Regions from separate parts of the Homo sapiens genome. Here region 1 is linked to region 2. Evidence: promoter capture Hi-C in human tissues and cell types (Jung and others, 2019). All regions are on one chromosome and are shown on one strand. The core of a region is centred on a gene start or on the middle of the fragment in contact, and the rest is flanking DNA. Distances in the headings are between cores, read along the strand shown.

Region 1 (4,023 bases), core at 1,332-3,831, 120 kb after region 2:
GCATTTAGGGAAATGTTATATAATCTGGTTTGTTTTTCCAGTATATGAAAATACTGTTTTTCCAGTATAATCTCACTTGTTTTCCAGTAGATAAAAATGCGTGGCCTCCGTTTTTATTTTATTTTACGTATCTATTGCAACAAGACTGAATGAACTCTGTTAGTTCCAGTAATTTGGGGGAATTTTGTTTTTGTTCTTTATTTTGGCCAGTTTGCTTTCTTTGGAGTTAACTGGCTGTTCTTTTTGCAATTACTTCAGTCAAATTAATTAATTCATAAGTGTTCATTCTTTTGAAATACCAATAAATCCATTTAGGCTATAAATTCTGATTAAAAGCTTATTACATCTTAAAATATATAATATGTTGGCTGATTGCCGTGCTTACTTTTGAAAGTAGCTATACTTGTTTAGATTTTCTCATTCTGCTAGAAGTTACTCAAAAGGATGCTATTTTGAAATTCTGTGAAAATTTTTTTAAACCTATGATTAATTTCTGGGATATAGAATAATAGCTAACAGTAATTTAATACCATGCAGTTTAATTTCCAAAACACCCAAACATGGTTTTTATTCTGATTTTACAAATGAGGAAACTGAGGCATACGAGAGTTAAGACATTTGCCCAGTATCACAGAGCCTACAAATTTGAAAATAAAACTCATAAAAGTTATGCTTTGGGAATTTATTAAATATTTATCTGTAACTCATATAGGATCACTTTGGCAAAGCTTTTTAAGAATTGGAGGAGAAGGATATATTTGCTATATGATACAAAATGGAAAACATAGACATTAAATCAACCTTATTAAACAGATCATTTATGCTTTTATTATCATTTATCTGACTTAGCAGTACTAATAAAGATATCTTATAATTCCCATATTTCTTGACGTTTTCTAATATTTAATAAACAAAGATTTATGTGTACCAAATCTTCACTGATATCTCAATACCTTTATCATTTTATCTTAATACTTTCCACTAGTGCAATTTAAGTATAATTCTTGCTTTCTTTACGTATGCATTTATTTAATATATATTTGTCCCTTCTTTATCTCTTTTTTATTTATTTATTATTTATGAGACAGGGTCTTGTTCCATTGCCCAAGCAGAAGTACAGTAGCATGATCATAGCTCACCATAGGCTCAATTTTCGGGGCTCAAGCAATCCTCCCACCTCAGGTTCCCAAAGTGCTGGAATTACAGGCATGAGCTGCCAAGTCTGGCCCCCATTTTTATTTTTTATGTTATTAGACTTTACATGGGTCTCTGGCAGATGACCAAAACCTGGATTCTGCTTTCTGACTCATTCACACCTATTTAAAAGATGTTTGACCTAATTACATGGCCATAGCTGATATAACTAGTTTTCCTTGTGTTATCTTGTTTATATTTCCCTTTCCTATATTTTCTGGTTAGCTTAAATTACTAGTTTCTTTTCTCCTCTCAAGAACAACAAAACATATAAAACCTCATTTAAATGGTATCATTATCTGTAACCATTCATATAGCTTTTTAAAACTACAGAAGCAAGTGGAAAATGGTAATATTTTAAGTCTCCCCCTTTTGAGGCAAGGGATTTAACTCTTATTTATCATAATTTTCCCTAGCTCCTAACAGACTCAATCTAAAATTTTAAACCAAAGTATTTACTTAATTTTTTTTTTTTTTTTTTTACTATATGAAAATCCTCTCTTAAAAAATGCTTGACTAGGAACCAGGGCAAGATGGCCAAAAAAGGAACAGCTCCGGTCTGCAGCTCACAGAGAGATCAACACAGAAGGCGGGTGATTTCTGCATTTCCAACAGAGGTACCCGGTTCACCTCACTGGGACTGGATAGACAGTGGGTGCAGCCCACAGACAGCGAGCTGAAGCAGGGTAGGGTGTCACCTCACCTGGGAAGCACAAGGGGTCTGGGAACTCCCTCCCCTAGCCAAGGGAAGCCATGAGGGACTGTGCCATGAGGAACAGTGCACCCTGGCCCAGATACTATGCTTTTCCCCCCAAGTCTTCGCAACCAGCAGACCAGGAGATTCCCTCCGGTGCCTATGCCACCAGGGATCTGGGTTTCAAGCACAAATCTGGGTGGCCATTTGGGCAGACACTGAGCTAGCTGCAGTTTTTTTTTTCATACCTCAGTGACACCTGGAATGCCAGCAAGACAGAACCATTCACTCTCCTGGAAAGGGGGCTGAAGCCAGGGAGCCAAGTGGTCTAGCACAGCAAATCCCACCCCTACAGAGCCCAGCAAGCTAAAATCCACTAGCTTGAAATTCTCGCTGCCAGCACAACAATCTGAAGTTGACCTGGGATGCTCAAGCTTGGTTGGGGGAGGGGCATCCACAATTACTGAGGCTTGAGTAGGCCCTATTCCCCTCACAGTGTAAACAAAGCCACCAGGAAGTTCAAACTGGGTAGACCCTACTGCAGCTTGGCAAAGCCACTATAGCTAGACTGCCTCTCTAGATTCCTCACTCTAGGCAGGGCATCTCTGAAAAAAAGCCAGCAGCCCCACTCAGGGGCTTACAGATAAAACTCCCATTTCCCTGGGAGAGGGCACCTGGGGAAAAGGGCAGCTGTGGGCACAGCTTCAGCAGACTTAAATGTTGCTGCCTGCTGGCTCTGAAGAGAGCAACAGATCTCCCAGCACAGTGCTTGAGCTCTGCTAACGGACAGACTGCCTCCTTAAGTGGGTCCCTGATACCTGTGCCTCCTGGTGGGGAGACACCTCCTACCAGGGTCAACAGACACCTCATACAGGAGAGCTCCAGCTGGCATCTGGCAGGTGCCCCTCTGGGAGGAAGCTTCCAAAGGAAGGAACAGGCAGCAATCTTTGCTGTTCTGCAGCCTCCACTGGTGATACCCAGGCAAACAGGGTCTGGAGTGGACATCCAGCAAACTCCAGCAGACCTGCAGCTGAGGGGCCTGTTAGAAGGAAAACTAACAAACAGGAATATCATCAATATCAACGAAAAGGACATCCACACAGATAACTCATCTGAAGGTCACCAACATGAAAGACCAAGGGCAGATAAATCCATGAAGATGAGGAAACGCCAGTGCAAAAAGGCAGAAAAAAAATGTGATCCTCTTCTCCTCCAAAGGATCACAACTCCTTGCCAGCAACGGAACAAAACTGGACGGAGAATGAGTTTGACAAATTGACAGAAGTAGGCTTCAGAAGGTGGGTAATAAGAAACTCCTCTGAGCTAAAGGAGCATGTTCTAACCCAATGCAAGGAAGCTACAAACCTTGAAAAAAGGTTAGAGGAGTGACAACTAGAATAACCAGTTTAGAGAAGGACCTGAATGACCTGATGTAGCCAAAAAACACAGCACGAGAACTTTGTGAAGCATACACAACTATCAATAGCTGAATCAATCAAGCAGAAGAAAGGATATCAGAGATTGAAGATGAATTTAATGAAATAAAGCATGAAGACAAGATTAGAGAAAAAAAGAATGAAAAGGAATGAACAAAGCTTCCAAGAAATATGGGACTATGTGAAAAGACCAAACCTATGTTTGATTGGTGTACCCGAAAGTGACGGGGAGAATGGAACCAAGTTGGAAAACTCTCGTCAGGATGTTATCCAGGAGAACGTCCCCAACCTAGCAATACAGGCCAACATTCAAATTCAGGAAATACAGAGAACACCACAAAGATACTCCTCGAGAAGAACAACCCCAAGACACATAATCATCAGATTCACCAAGGTTGAAATGGAGGAAAAATGTTAGGTGCAGCCAGAGAGAAAGGTTGAGTTACTCACAAAGGGAAGCCCATCAGACTAACAGCAGATCTCTCTGTAGAAACCCTACAAGCCAGAAGAGAGTGGGGGCCAATATTCAACATTCTTAAAGACAAGAATTTTCAACCCAGAATTTCATATACAGCCAAACTAAGATTTATAAGCAAAGAAGAAATAAAATCCTTTACAGACAAGCAAATGCTGAGAGATTTTGTCACCACCAGGCCTGCCTTACAAGAGCTCCTGAAGGAAGCACTAAATATGGAAAGG
Region 2 (3,948 bases), core at 489-2,988:
AAACATATAAAGCAAGAGGAGAGAGTGTAGGGAAAGACCTTAAAAAAGAGGGACAAAAGAGGGAAGAGGTGACTCCTAAGAGCGGAGGGCTGAAAAGCCAAAAGGAGGTTAACATTTCTAGGAAAACGAATCGCCAGTGTCAAATACCACAGAGTAGTGAGTAAGGACAGGAACAGAGGACAGGCCCTGGGATTCACGATCTGCACGTCACTGGTGACAACGTCCAAGAGCAACAGACTGGGGGGATGTGGAACTATTTCCTTCACGGTTTTGACCAGCGTGCTTACTAATAAATCTCAATTCCCTTCATAGCTCTGATTTGATTGTTTTCTGCGAAGGATTCTCAGTTACACGGATGTTATCATTGAACATTAGATACTTTGCTTTCCGAATGGCTGCCTCATTAAGAATCGCAATTTAGCTGGATGTGTCCTCATCGGACTTCCCCAGCCTTCTACTCACTCTCACCTTGCCCCTACTCTCCCTACCTCCCAAGGGGACTGGAGCATGATTTTTCAGGGATTGTGGTGCACCTCTGCCATATGGTGGACATTCAAAGAAAATTTAATTACTAATGTGAATGGAAAGGATTTAGGAAGTGGGTGGGAAAACAGTCTCCTCTCATATTGGAAATACAGTTACTTCCCCTTTCAAAATAAATATAAGTATTTATATTTCAAAGTTAAATATAACTAGACGATAGTTGTACCCTATAGTGCAGTATGACAGGGAAGGTGTAGGCTTTGGTGTCAAACCAACCTAAGGACTGAGTCTCAGCTGTTGCGCATTGCACACCTGCAAAGACGGGTAATATTCTTTACTTGTAAGGTGGTTGGAAGAGCTGAACTGAATAACGTGGAAAGAGTCGATCACAGGGCTTTGTGCAGAATAGGAGGGCAGTATAAAGTAGCAGGGGGGCTATTAGTACTGGCTATTGTTTACTCATCCTATAAGCTGCTTATTCAGAAAACTACAGTAACTTTCCAAATAATTTGGGCAGGAAAACCTCACCACCTTTCATCTAGAAAGATCTAATCACTTCTTTGAACGCCATTCACCCAAGAGGGCACAACTCCTACCAACATGAAAAGCAGATCTTGTGAAAGCCCACTTGCTGCCATCTCCCAGCCATTTCTCCGACTTCAGACCGGTGAACATCGTGCATTAGAAAGTGTTGTTACATGTCCAAGGAAATCTACATATAGAACTTTTGCCACGGAAATGCTGAAGTCCTATTCTGACAGCGTGACTCCGATGTCCACTTGGCAGGCTTTGCGCAAAGAATTAAGGCGAGGGTGGAGAGGGTGGGTAGGGTGGGGACGGACAAAGTGAGAAGGGAGGCGGGCCAAGTGACCACACGTACATGAAGCCTCTCCAGTTATGGCCAAATCATTTTTTAAAAATAATTCCATTTCTTCCCCACCCTTTGGTCACTTCCTAACGCCGGCTGGGGAGTCACATGCTAAGCTCCAAAGTGAGCAACAGACACCCTCGTCCCAGGTCCCATGCTGGCAGAAGCGGACCCGGGCCGAGGGATCAGCCCTCCCACTTCCAGCGGAGGAGCCCTTCGCAACCCTAGCCTCCAGCCCGGGGCGAAGTCCTCCAGGCCCGCGGGGGCGCCCGCAGGCTCCGCCCCTTCTTCGGCTAGCTGCCCGTCCGTCCCGCCCCTGCTCCGCCCTTCCCGCCCCTGCTCCGCCCATCGCGCGGCGGCCCCGGGGGCGAGAGGGGGCGGAGCGTGGAGGCGGCAGCTGGAACCGCGCAGCGCACGGGAACGCGTCCCGCTGCTTGGGTCAGGTTCGCCGGTCGCGGGAGCCCCGCCGTGCAGTCGGAGGTGAGTACCGACGCGGCCCGACCCACGTCCCCAGGCGGGAGCGCCGTCCACCCTGTATCCCTCGAGAGTCGGTGCGGGCCTTTACCGAGGTGCCCGAGGCAGTGGCGGCACGGGGGACACGGAGGCGAGCTTGGGGAGGCTGAGAGGAGAATCGGGGACGTGTTTCTGGCGACTGACGTCTCCACCCTGTCCCCAGTCTATGTCATGCCGGGGAGAGAAACCAGGGATTGGAAGTGGCTTTCCTAGACCCTTCTTAGCCTTGGCTGTGCGTGCTGTCCTGAAAGTCCTTGCCTAGGGTGTGCGGCCAGTCCTGGGAGTCCTAACCCCGAGGGTGTGAGGCCCGCACTGGGAGTCCTCGCCCAGGCCCGGCTGGCTGGATAGGGAAACCCTTGCTAAAGTTGTGCGGGCAGATCCGGGAATCCACTCCAAGGGGTAAAGGGAAAATGGGATGAGGGGGAAGAGACCCTTCGTGGGAGGCTTGAACACAGAGCCCACCATGATAGATTCAGAGATCTAGAAAGGAGCTTGGGCTGCAGTTATGACCAAGTCATTTTTTTCTAGATTCAGCTAGCACATCATAATGGCATCTTCCTTCTTGCAACACATGTAACTCTCTTCCCTGGGGGACAACCTCTAGGACAGAAGTCCCCAAACTTTTCTGGTACTCAGTACTCCTTTACACTCTTAAAAATTAGTATCTTAAGGAGCTTTTATGTGTGTTATATCTATCCATATTTATAATATGTAAGTAAGACTGAGAAATTTGTACTATAATAATTCATTTAAAAAGAATAGTGAACTAATTATATCTTAACATTGCCTATTTTTATGAAAAAGAACTATATTTCCCAAAACAGAAAATGATTGAGAAGAGTGGCATTGTTTTACATTTTTGCAAATCTCTTTGATGTCAAGCGTAATTGAAGACAGCTGGATTCTGATAGCTGCTTCTGCAGTCTGTTGCAATATCACATATCATGTAGCCTCTTGAGACCTCCACTGTATACTCCTGAAAATGTGTGAATGAAAAAAAGCAAGTAACATTTTATTACTAGGAAAATGGTTTTGACTTTGGAGATCCCTAGGAGTTCTCTGCACCACACTTTGAGGATGCTGGTGTAGGAAATGCTTCAGAGGCTTCATTCATTGGGCCTGCTTCTTGTTTGTGATCCTTCCTCTGATTGGGAACACACACCACCTCATGCCATGGACAGTATTAACCTCTGGTATCTGGAACCAAGTTTGATCTCACTTTGGAAACCATGTACTAGGTCCCCACGTGAGGCTGTGATGAACCTTGCCAGCCTCCTGAAAAGTCAGCAAGGCTTCGCACATGCCTTTGGTTGTCTCTGTGCTTGCAGAGCTGACCTGTCTGTGCATCAGGATTACAACAGTGATGTGGCAAACAGGACCTGTAGGCTCACAAAAGTGCCAGTGGGGAGACCATGCCAAGTGTGTAGGGGTTCCTGTGAGAGTTACCAAGTAGTCAGGAAGTTATTTCCAAAAGAACAAGGAGGCATGCTTTTGCCTTCCCTTGCACGTGTTCATTTCTGTTTGCAGTTGCATGGTTATTAGCCTTGAGTTTATTGGAATAATGATTTCCAGTCTTGACGTTCTTTCACTTTCCACTTTCAGAGGGTGTCACTCTGAGTGGTGCTTCCTCAGCCCCTGTCAAAAAGCAGTTTCCACCATCCTGGAGTGTGGTAGGTGAGGTCCTTCACGGGACTCTTTCCTTAGCTTCGTGCCTTGTCAGAACAAGTTCAAGACAGATGTTATGTGTATATATTTGGGAGGAAGAAATTTTCTAACTCCATCCTCCCTTTTGTTCCTTCATCCATAGAGCCTCTTGTGCTCTGATGGATCAGTTTAAATGCTACAGCCGATACTTGAGAAATGTTGCATGCACATGAGCGTGTTGTGTGTGTTGCACAGTCCACAGGTGAGGAGGAGGAGAAGTCCACAGGAGAAGGAAATGGGATCTAAACTCTGAGCACCTGCTGTGTTCTTTGTATTAAAAAATTCCACTTTGATGGTGGGGTCTCATTCCTTCATTCTTTCAGTAGATTTTTATTGGCCACCTATTTCTCATGTGTCCAGTTATGTGCGGGATGCCAGGA

The links. The method cuts DNA at HindIII sites, captures the fragments that hold promoters and counts their contacts. A contact is called where the count stands out against the background at its distance.
Region 1: a contact is called between a fragment that was not itself captured here and the fragment with the promoter of ACO1 in region 2, in 7 of the 25 tissues and cell types used here (H1 embryonic stem cells, adrenal gland, heart right ventricle and 4 more).

The regions. Positions count from the first base shown.
Region 1 is chr9:32,506,583-32,510,605 of GRCh38, forward strand. All of the region lies in intron 1 of RIGI (RNA sensor RIG-I), which reads right to left. Among named protein-coding and RNA genes, the nearest start is that of RIGI, 18 kb to the right of the region's middle. RefSeq lists enhancers at 1,498-2,216, 2,217-2,933. The HindIII fragment of the contact is 4,098 bases long and covers 533-4,023 here.
Region 2 is chr9:32,382,905-32,386,852 of GRCh38, forward strand. It overlaps ACO1 (aconitase 1), which reads left to right and starts at 1,739. Exons shown (of 21, transcript NM_002197.3): 1 at 1,739-1,831. RefSeq lists a silencer at 1,540-1,919. The HindIII fragment of the contact is 21,386 bases long and covers 1-3,948 here.